3 separate regions of the Homo sapiens genome follow, and regions 1 and 2 are each linked to region 3. The links are contacts of gene promoters, found by promoter capture Hi-C in blood cells and fetal thymus (Javierre and others, 2016). All regions are on one chromosome and are shown on one strand. The core of a region is centred on a gene start or on the middle of the fragment in contact, and the rest is flanking DNA. Distances in the headings are between cores, read along the strand shown.

What was found. The method cuts DNA at HindIII sites, captures the fragments that hold promoters and counts their contacts. A CHiCAGO score of 5 or more calls a contact.
Region 1: a fragment that was not itself captured here is called in contact with the fragment with the promoter of RPS9 in region 3 in 4 of 17 cell types (total B cells, naive B cells, fetal thymus and 1 more); the score reaches 6.2 in total B cells.
Region 2: a fragment that was not itself captured here is called in contact with the fragment with the promoter of RPS9 in region 3 in 1 of 17 cell types (monocytes); the score reaches 5.1 in monocytes.

The regions. Positions count from the first base shown.
Region 1 is chr19:54,395,058-54,398,710 of GRCh38, reverse strand. No RefSeq gene overlaps it. Among named protein-coding and RNA genes, the nearest start is that of TTYH1, 19 kb to the left of the region's middle. The HindIII fragment of the contact is 1,914 bases long and covers 943-2,856 here.
Region 2 is chr19:54,351,006-54,354,441 of GRCh38, reverse strand. LAIR1 (leukocyte associated immunoglobulin like receptor 1) reads left to right here. Exons shown (of 10, transcript NM_002287.6): 10 at 1-3,058. Among named protein-coding and RNA genes, the nearest start is that of LAIR1, 12 kb to the left of the region's middle. The HindIII fragment of the contact is 3,651 bases long and covers 1-3,219 here.
Region 3 is chr19:54,199,123-54,202,634 of GRCh38, reverse strand. RPS9 (ribosomal protein S9) reads right to left here and starts at 1,777. Exons shown (of 5, transcript NM_001013.4): 1 at 1,747-1,777; 2 at 1,354-1,475; 3 at 1,026-1,148. The coding sequence starts at 1,450. RefSeq lists a silencer at 1,464-1,957 and an enhancer at 1,720-2,389. The HindIII fragment of the contact is 3,345 bases long and covers 1-3,115 here.

The sequences.
Region 1 (3,653 bases), core at 650-3,149, 200 kb before region 3:
GGAGATTGACACCACAATGAAACCCCATCTCTACTAAAAATACAAAAAATTAGCCAGGCGTGGTGGCGGGTGCCTGTAGTCCCAGCTACTCAGGAGGCTGAGGCAGGAGAATGGCGTGAACCCGGGAGGTGGAGCTTACAGTGAGCTGAGATCGAGCCACTGCACTCCAGCCTGGGTGACAGGGTGAGACTCCGTCTCAAAAAAAGAAAAAGAAAGAAATAGAAAATAAAATCTTGGGTCTTTCTTTTGATATCTTGATCAAGAAAGTTTGATCACTTTACCAAACATGTATTATGTATTTTTCATAAATAAAAGAGAATTTATAAAACAGCTTGAATCATGAAACATTAACGAAACGGCCTCACTTAGCCCACCATCCAATTAAGAGCTACAATCTCATCCCGACCACCTCATCTACCTGGAATCTCCTTCCATTCTCATCCTCCACTTTCCTCCTCTGCAGAAGTAACTGTGCTTGTCGTTCCCTTATTTGTTTTATTTTATTATTTTATTTTATTCTACTTTAAGTTCTGAGACAGAGTCTCACACTGTTGCCCAGGCTGGAGTGCGGTGGAATGATCTCGGCTCACTGCAAACTCTGCCTCCCAGGTTCAAGTAATTCTCCTGCCTCAGCCTCCCGAAGAGCTGGGATTACAGGCGCGCACCACCATGCCTGGCTAATTCTTGTATTTTCAGTAGAGACGGGGTTTCACCATGTTGTCCAGGCTGGTCTCAAACTCCTGACCTCAGGTGATCTGCCCGCCTCAGCCTCCCAAAGTGCTGGGATTATAGGCGTGAGCCACTGCACCTGGCCCCTTATTTGTTTAAAATAGTGTCTCTAAACCACATATTGGAATGAACTTGGTAAAAATGACAACAGAAACCATGAATTTTTTTTTGAAATGATTCGTGAAATCATTTTCAATGCCATAGTTTGAAGCTTTCCAATATAGGTCTATATCACAGTTTTTGTATTTTTGTACCTGTTGATGAACACATGGGCTTCTTTTATTTTAGTTACTTTTCTATTTCTATTTATTTTACTTTCCCTATTACGTAACAGACATTTTTTACATGTTTCTTGGTGCATATGTGCAAGAATTTTTAAAGAGTATACATATAAGAATGGAATGATTGCGCTATAGGGATTGTTAGTTTCAATTTTTTGAAATAGTGTCAAAGTGTTTCCAAAAGTAGCCTTACCAATTTTTTCCTGGCTTAATTGAGATATGATTGACAAATAAAAGCGTATATATTTGGTCAGGCGCGGTGGCTCATGCCTGTAATCCCAGCATTTTGGGAGGCCGAGGCGGGTGGATCACAAGGTCAGGAGATCGAGACCATCCTGGCTAACACGGTGAAACCCCGTCTCTACTAAAAAAAAAAATACAAAAATTAGCCGGGCGCCTGTAGTCCCAGCTACTCGGGAGGCTGAGGCAGGAGAATGGTGTGAAGCCGGGAGGCGGAGATTGCAGTGAGCCGAGATTGCGCCACTGCACTCCAGCCTGGGCGACAGAGCGAGACTCCGTCTCAAAAAGAGAAGTGTATATATTTAAGGTGTACAACATGATGTTTTGACATATGTACACATTGTGAAATAATTACCATAATCAAGATGTTTAACATATCCATCACCTCACTTTTTTTTCTGAGACAGAGTCTCATTCTGTCACTCAGCCTAGAGTGCAGTGGTGCGATCTCAGCTCACGGCAAACTCCACCTCCCACGTCAAGTGATTCTTGTGCCTCAGCCTCCCGAGTAGCTGGGATTACAGGTGTGTGCCACCACGTCTGGCTAATTTTTGTATTTTTTGTAGAGATGGGGTTTGGCCATGTTGCCCAGGCTGGTCTCAAACTGCTGACCTCAAGTGATCCACTTGCCTCAGCCTCCCAAAGTGCTTGGATTATAGGTGTGAGCCACCGTTCGTGGCCACATAGTTGTCATTTTTGCGTGTGTGGCGAGAGCCCTTACGATCTATTCTGCTAACAATGTTTAAGTACATAATACATTTTCACTAATTTGTCACCATGTTGCACAACAGATCTCTTGAATTTATTTTTTTCTATCTAAAATTGTGTACCCTCTGACCACGATCTTCCCAATCCCTACTCCCCTTCCCAAGCCCCTGGTCACCACCATTCCGCTCTCTGCTTCTGTGAGTTCAACTTTTTTTTTTTTTTTTTTTTTGAGACAGAGTCTCACTCTGTCGCCCAGGCTGGAGTGCAGTGGCGCAATCTCGGCTCACTGCAACCTCCGCCTCCCAGGTTCAAGCCATTCTCCTGCCTCAGCCTCCCGAGTAGCTGGGATTACAGGCATGCACCACCACGCCTGGCTAATTTTGAATTTTTAGTAGAGACGGGGTTTCTCCATATTGGTCAGGCTGGTCTCGAACTCCCAACCTCAGGTGATCTGCCCGCCTTGGTCTCCCAAAGTGCTGACAGGCGTGAGCCACCGTGCCCAGCCTCCCGAGTAGGTTTTGCCATGTTGGCCATGGCTAGTCTCGAAGGCCTGAGTTCAACTTTTTAATATTCCATGTATAAGTGAGGTTGTGCGATATTTGTCTTTCTGTATCTGGCTTATTTCATGTGGCATGATGTCCTGAAGGTTGACAATTACATCCATACTGTAAATGACAGGGTTTCCTTCCTTTCTAAGGCTGGATAGTATTTCCACTGTGTATATATACATTTCCTTTACCCATTGTCCACTGATGGAGACTTAGGTGATTCCATATGTTGGCTATTGTGAATAACTCTGCAATACACATAGGGGTGCAGACATCTCTTCCACACACTGGTTTCAGTTTCTTTGAGCATATACCCAGTAGTGGGATTGCTGCATCATGGAGGGTAAGCTTTTTTTGTTTTGTTTTGAGACAGAGTCTCGCTCTGTCGCTCAGGCTGGAGTGCAGCAATCTCGGCTCACTGCAAGTTCCGCCTCCCGGGTTCAAACTATTCTCCTGCCTCAGCCTCCCGAGTGGCTGGGACTACAGGTGCCTGCCACCACGCCCGGCTAATTTTTTGTATTTTTAGTAGAGATGGGGTTTCGCCATGTTGGCTAGGCTGGTCTCGATCTCCTGACCTCAGGGGATCCGCCTGCCTCAGCCTCCCAAAGTGCTGGGATTACAGGCGTGAGCCACCGCGCCCGGCCACAAAAGCAAATTTATGACAGGGACCTGGTGATGCGTGCTGCATCACACCACATCCTTCCATTCCTTTTCACAAAGAGACTCTAGTGGCTCATGCCTGTAATCCCAGCACTTTGGGAGGCCGAAGCGGGCGGATCACAAGGTCAGGAGTTCGAGACCAGCCTAGCCAACATGGCGAAACCCCATCTCTACTAAAAACACAAAAATTAGCCAGTCACGGTGGCTCACATCTGTAATCCCAGCACTTTGGGAGGCCAAGGCCCACAGATCACAGGGTCAGGAGTTCAAGACCAGCCTGGCCAACATGGGGAAACCCATCTCTACTAAAAATACAAAAATTAACCAGGCGTGGTGGCAGGCGCCTGTAATCCCAGCTACTTGGGAGGCTGAGGCAGGAAAATCACTTGAAACCGGGAGGCGGAAGTTGCAGGGAGCTGAGATCGTGCCACTGCACTCCAGCCTGGGCGACAAGAGTGAAACTTTGCCTCAACAACAACAACAACAA
Region 2 (3,436 bases), core at 145-2,644, 150 kb before region 3:
CCACAGATACGATACATTAGATATTCTGAACTTGCTCATCTTAGGACTTCACATTGGTGTCAGTGTTTTCTGACAAATCACGTGTATCAGGAATGAATGAGGGAGGTGTGGCTGGGTGAAGGCAGAGAGCCGACCCTACAGGTCCACATCTGCACATACATGCACAGGAATGCATGCTCTCACACACATGCATACACACACGCACACACACAGACATGCACATACACTCACACGCCCCAGGAAATCCAAGGAATCACTGAGCCTGCTGTTGGTTGAGGCATTTCTGAGTATCCACCCTACCTGTAGGGTCAGATGTACTGATTGACACAGAAAATTACCCTATGTACCACTAGGAGGCGGCAGAATCTCATTTGGGTTAATCTGTGTTTGTCTTTAAAAAACAAAAACAGGCCGGGCATGGAGGCTCACGCCTGTAATCCCAGCACTTTGGGAGGCTGAGGTGGGCGGATCACGAGGTCAGGAGATCGAGACCATCCTGGCTAACACGGTGAAACCCCATCTCTACTAAAAATACAAAAAAATTAGCCGGGTGTGGTGGTGGGTGCCTGTAGTCCCAGCTACTCGGGAGGCTGAGGGAGGAGAATGGCGTGAACCCGGGAGGCGGAGTTTGCAGTGAGCCGAGGTGGTGCCACTGCACTCCAGCCTGGGCGACAGAGCGAGACTCCGTCAAAAAAGAAAAGAAAAGAAAAGAAAGATTTTTAAGAATTCAGCAAAAACTCAGCCAGCTCTTTCTATGGGGCAGTTGCTAATTTAGTTCTAGGCAAACGTGGACACATTAAATTCTCCTACAAACCCTCCACAGCGTGCTCTATTATTTTCCTCATTTATAAAAACAGAAACTATGGACCGAGACATGAAGTAACCTGTCCAAGGTCGGCCAAGTCTCAGAGACAGGGGCTTCAGACCCACCTGAGGCTCCTGACTCCACATTATGAACCCCGGGATGGGCTGCAGCTCGGTCTGCTGGGAGGTTTCTGTGCTGGTTCAAAGAGGGTGGTACCTGACTGGCCTACCCAATTTTAATTTGTACTGAGCTTTAATTTTCTATTTGTGCTCAGGTTTAATTTCCTCCTGGGATCTGCTTCCCAGTGCTGTACTCTGTATCTTTGCTTTCTTGTGTGAACATTGTGACCGATTTTCCCTGTTCTTCACGTGGGACACATTCTCCCTGCTCTGTCTGTCTCTGTCCCTGTCTCTCTTTCTGTCTTTCTCTCTCACTGTGTGTCTCTCTGTCTCTCTCTCTCTTTTTTTTTTTTTTTGAGATGGAGTTTCGCTCTTGTTGCCCAGGCTGGAGTGCAATGGCACAATCTTGGCTCACTGCAACCTCTGCCTCCCGGGTTCAAGCGATTCTCCTGCCTCAGCCTCCTGAGCAGCTGGGATTACAGGCATGCACCACCACACACGGCTAATTTTTTGTATTTTTGTTAGAGACGGGGGGCTCTCCATGTTGCTCAGGCTGGTCTTGAACTCCCGACCTCAGGTGATCTGCCCACCTCAGCCTCCCAAAGTCCTGGGATTACAGGCATGAGCCACTGCGTCCAGCCGTCTTTGTCTCTTTTTCTACATCTCTGTCTTTCTTCTCTGGTTGTTTTTCAACCATCAGCTGGGTGTTTTCTCCCATAACGTCTTGTTTGTTTGACTATGAGGTTGACAGGTGGGTACATGAACTCTATAGCAGAAGGTGGACAGTCTGCACATAGCAGAGGATGGGTGAATTTTTCTACCCCTTGCAGAGCACAGGAGAGCTGAGCAGATGCCAGTGTCTGCTCCAGTGTAAGGAAGTCCAGGAAGTTCAGGTGGTGAGGTCACAGTGGAAAGCAGGACAGATAGAGTTTAGGGGAAATTAAGCAAAAATACCACACTGTTATTTCTTGACATATTAGTGGAAAGAGGAAGGGCCCAGAGAGAAGACAGAAAATTAGATGCAGGGGCTTGTTTTTTCTCTTGACTTGCCAACCCGCCCAACGCAGGGGCCAGAACTCAGGGTGGTGAGATCTGGGAACATTGCTGTGCGGAGAAGATGTCCCTCCTGCTGCACGGGCCCCCAAGCACCACCTGGGGGAAGAGCCATGTTTAATTCACCTGGCAGTGCAGTGTGGCCAGGCAGAGAGGGAGGGCCTACCCTGTGCTTATGATCCCACCCCAGTTCCCCTGGGGTGTGCCCTGGCGGTGAACACCAGGAGGCTGCAGTGGGGCCCAACGTGAAAGGGAGGAGCAGCCTCACCGGGGCCAGATGGGGCAGCAGCAGATATTCACAGATGTCCCTGTGAGTAACCAGGGCAGAGGCCAGGGGTCTGGCCTTCCCTTTCTTGGAGCCCTGGGCCAGCTGGGCAAGGCGTTGAGAGAAAGATTACCCGGTGACCTTTATCAAAGCAGAGTAAGGAGGGCTTTATTCAGAACCATCACTGTAGGTACCAGGACCCCAGCGGTGGGATTTTGTAGTAGGGGAAAGAAAATGGGCTCGACGTTGAATACAGCATGAACAAGTGAGAATGTTTGTTATACAAACTATAGGGTGGACTTTTTTTTTCTTTTTTTTAACTTTTTTTTACCTTTTAGTGTAAAACTGAACATAGAAAATAAATTCATGAAGAAGGGATATTTTCTGAGGGTGTCCAGGGCTGCCCAACACCTCGTCTACCTTCTCTGTCATAGCCCCATTTAAAACACTCTCTCTGGATGAATACACCAAACCTCACAGTCTTTGCTCTCTTGCTAGGAAGAGGAGCAAGAGCGTGTTTCACTCTTGGCTCCTGCTTACACACCTGCTGTCCAATGGAAACTACTACTTAAGACATTTAAAAATAGTTGTGGTGATAGCATGTTGTGTTTTGGTTGGTGATGCCAGTTAGTCTCTGAAAACTTTCTGTGATGAGTGTAAAATTCTACACCTTAATCTCCTTTCTTGTAGGATCTGGGAAGCAGTATGCACTTGATTGCACCAAAGATTTTACGTTCATAGAAAATTTCTGGCATCTGTGTGAAGAAAGTAAACTATATCTTCCATTTAGACAAATAAAATATCTTTTTGATAAAAGGTGACTATATGTTTAAGGCTTAGGGAGAAGAAAGAATCAAGGAATATAAATGTGTTGATGTCTAAATGCAATTCTGACACTTAACCAGAGTTAAAAGTGCTTTGAGAGTCCCCAGAGCTCTGCACCTGCTCTACATCTACTGGGATTTAGAGCTAAAGCTTCCTGAAACCGTTGTTCTGCTTGGTCCTTCAGCAGTGACAACCTGTTCTGTTCCAATTGCTAAGATCTGAGTTGTGAGAGCTGCGGGATGGGAATTTTCCTGTTGCCGTTCCAAGAAGTAAAATGTGCCTCATTTAGTCCTAAATTGTACCTCCATAAAAATCACTTTGGGCCGGGCGCAGTGGCTCACGCCTGTAATCCCAGCACTTTGGCAGGCT
Region 3 (3,512 bases), core at 528-3,027:
ATAACACCGCATCTCAGAGTAGATTTTAAAACAAGATGGTTAAGATGGTACATTTTCAATTTAATGTGTATTTCACCACAATTAGTAAAGTAAGCCTAAGTCTATGTGATCTGCATGCCCTCCTAAAGTCATCACCTGAAATGCTGTTCCCTGAGACATTTTACAGGTTCTCTCCTGTTCAGGCCTTTGCTAAATACCACCTAAATGTCCTTGACCAGCTTAAAAAAACAAGCACCAGCCTGGACAACATGGTGAAAACCCATCTCCACTAATAATAGAAAATTAGCCAGGCTTGGTGGCCCATGCCTGTGATTCCAGCTACTTAGGAGGCTAAGACAGGAGAATCGCTTGAACTCTGGAGGCGGAGTTTGCAGTGAGCCAAGATTGCGACAACTACACTCCAGCATGGGCAATGGAGCGAGACTCCGTCTCAAAAGTAAAATTAGCCAGGTGTGGTGGCGTGCGCCTGTCTGTAGTCCCAGCTACTTGGGAGGCTAAGATAGGAGAATTGTTTGAACCCAGGAGGCGGGGGTTGCAGTAAGCCGAAATGGCGCCACGGCACTCCAGCCTGGGCAACAGAGCAAGACTCCGTCTCAAAAGACTAAATAAAACGAGAAAACTTAATTAAAAAAACAATAAACCAAGCAAATGTGCAAACCCTGTTATCACCATCACTTAGCCCAGAAATTCCACTTCATAGTCTACTCTCATCCACTAGCAAACAGGCCACATAAACAGAATATAAAGATATAGACGGGTGCCCAGGTGTGCCAGGCCTATCTTTAGCTCTGGTCATTACTAAACTGAAGGTCCAATAACTGGGCAAAAAAGCCACACACCTAAGAAACAGGGCAAAGACTGATCCAGATACACTTTTCCTACTCCACAAGTGCCACTAAAAGTTAGAAGGCTGGTTCCATTTATCCAATGACACAACTCTCATCACTGGAACAGAGGCAACAGAAGGGAGAATGAACCTCACAAGCCCTGCACCCCATCCCTCTGCTGTGGACTCCCATACGCACCTTCGAACAGACGCCGTGGGTCCTTCTCATCAAGCGTCAGCAGTTCCCGGGCGGCCTTGCGGATCTTGGCCAGGGTAAATTTGACCCTCCAGACCTCACGTTTGTTCCGGAGCCCATACTCGCCTGGTGGGGAGAAGGGGGTGGACAAGTGTAGTCCCACGTACTGGCACAACAACTAGACTGGCAGCTTTGGAATCACAAAACCTTCCTAAACCACGAATAGTACCAAATTTAGGGGACGGACTAGATAGAGTACATGGGCACCTTCATCCACGTGCTAACCGCCTCCCGGAAGCCGAACCACTTCCCGGAAGCCTTGGCCACTCACCGATCAGCTTCAGCTCTTGGTCGAGACGAGATTTCTCGAAGGGTCTCCGCGGGGTCACATAAGTTTTGCGACAAACCCAGCTCCGGGCCACTGGCATGTTGGCTCCGCTTCCCCGTCTGCGCCTGCGCGGGAGAGAAGTGTGAGCGTAAGGGATCCAAACGGCGCCTGCGCAGTCCCACAACTACGCCAAAACCTCGCGGAGCCCAGATCCGATCTCGCGAGAATAACCTCCAACGCTCTCATAGTCAGTATCTGCCCCCACAACCGTGCTGCACTCCCGTTCAACCACCCTGCTCTGTTTCCTAACGTCTTTAGCTTACTCATGGAAACTCGGAAGGCCCGGGCCACCATCCAACCCAAACCCTAGAGAAAAAGCACACCACCGCACCTCACCTAAGCAAACCACCCGGTCACTGAGAAAGAGGCGCGGAAGCGCCACGGCTGCGCTCTTATAGTAACGCCGGCGTCTCGTGACGTTTTCACGCACCACGCACGTCAGAGCCAATCAGAAGAGGCGTTGGCTGGCTGAGAAGCAGTGGAGACGTGAGGCTGGGCTAGAGCGGCGTGCTAACCTGGGAGGACTAGGTTTTTTCCGGCCAGGGAGTGGAAACCTGAGAAGTAGGGAGAACCTTCCTTCTCCGCCCCTGGACGGTGGTTTTTCTTTTTCTTTCTGAGACAGGGTCTCGCTCCGTCGCCCAGGCTGGAGTGCAGTGGCGTGATTTCGGCTCACTGAGGCCCCGACCAACCTCTCGGGCTCGAGCGATCCTCCCACCTCCTCCCCAGTAGCTGGGATTACAGGCACACGCCACGACGCCCGGGTAGCATTTTTTTTTTTTAACAGTCGGCGTCTTGCCATGTTGCCCAGGCTGGTCTTGAACTCCCGGCCTCGAGAGAGCCTCCCGCCGTGGCCCCCCCAAAGTGCTGGGATTACAGGCGTGAGCCACCGCGCCCAGCCGAGATTATTTCTGTCACTAACAATAATGTGGCATTCTGGAACGCTATGTGCCACATACTGTTCTAAGAATTTTAAATGTATTTACTCAATCTTCAATACATACTTACAGAGCACTCTCAGAGAAGTTGCCCCCCCACCCATGGTACTATTATTATCAATAGCCACTTAAGGGGTATTAGTACTATTATCAGTAATTTATTTTATTTTTGAGACGGAGTTTTTCGCTCTCGTCACCCAGGCTGGAGTGCAGTGGTGCGATCTCGGCTCACTGCAACCTCCGCTTCCCGGGTTCAATCGATTCTCGTGCCTCAGCCTCCCGAGAAGCTGGGACTACAGGCGCCCACCACCATGCCCGGCTAATTTTTAAATTTTTAGTAGAGACGGGGTTTTGAACTCCTGGTCTCCAACGCCTGACCTCAAGTGATCCACCCGCCTCAGCCTCCCAAAGTGCTAAGATTACAGGTGTGAGCCACCGCGCCTGACCTAGAGTTCTCTTTTTATATATAGTCTGGTTATTGTCTGTCTGTACACCCATCTCTCCACTCCGAATGCGATGGTCTGTCTCCACAGCTCGTGTTCTTCAGTTGTCTTCCCTACGCTGCTGCCTCGGCAGTCACTATCTCCTCAGGAAGCAGTCCCACCCGCCCCTTTCTCTTCCACGGCATCCACACCATCCGGATGCCTGGATTCAAATGCCACGTCACCACTTGCCAGCTGCAGTGCCTTCGACAAGTTTCTCAATCACTCTGTGCCTCAGCGTCCTCCTCTGTAAAACGGCGAATGATGGTAGCGCCTACCTCATAAGCTTGTGAGGATTAAGTGAGAGTCTATCCAGTGTTGAGGAGAGTGGCATAAATAAAGCGCCTAGTGGTAGCTACCATCGTCATTATTGTCATCTGCATTGTACTTCCATATCTTACAAACTACCTTGTTCAGTTTTATGGGTTTTTTGTTTGTTTGTTTTGTTGTTTTGAGACGGGGTTTTGCCATATTGCCCAGGCTGGTCTTGAACTCCTGGGCTCAAGTGATCCACTCGCCTCAGCCTCCCCAAGTGCTGGGATTACAGGTGTAAGCCACCATGCCTGGCCAAATTTTATGCATTTTTGTATCTTGAACACGCGTATATTATTCATCTGGAAGGGGGAAACGTGGAAGGAAAAAACTTCCATAAGTTTTCACTCCCTTCAGGATGAAGTCCAAGCTC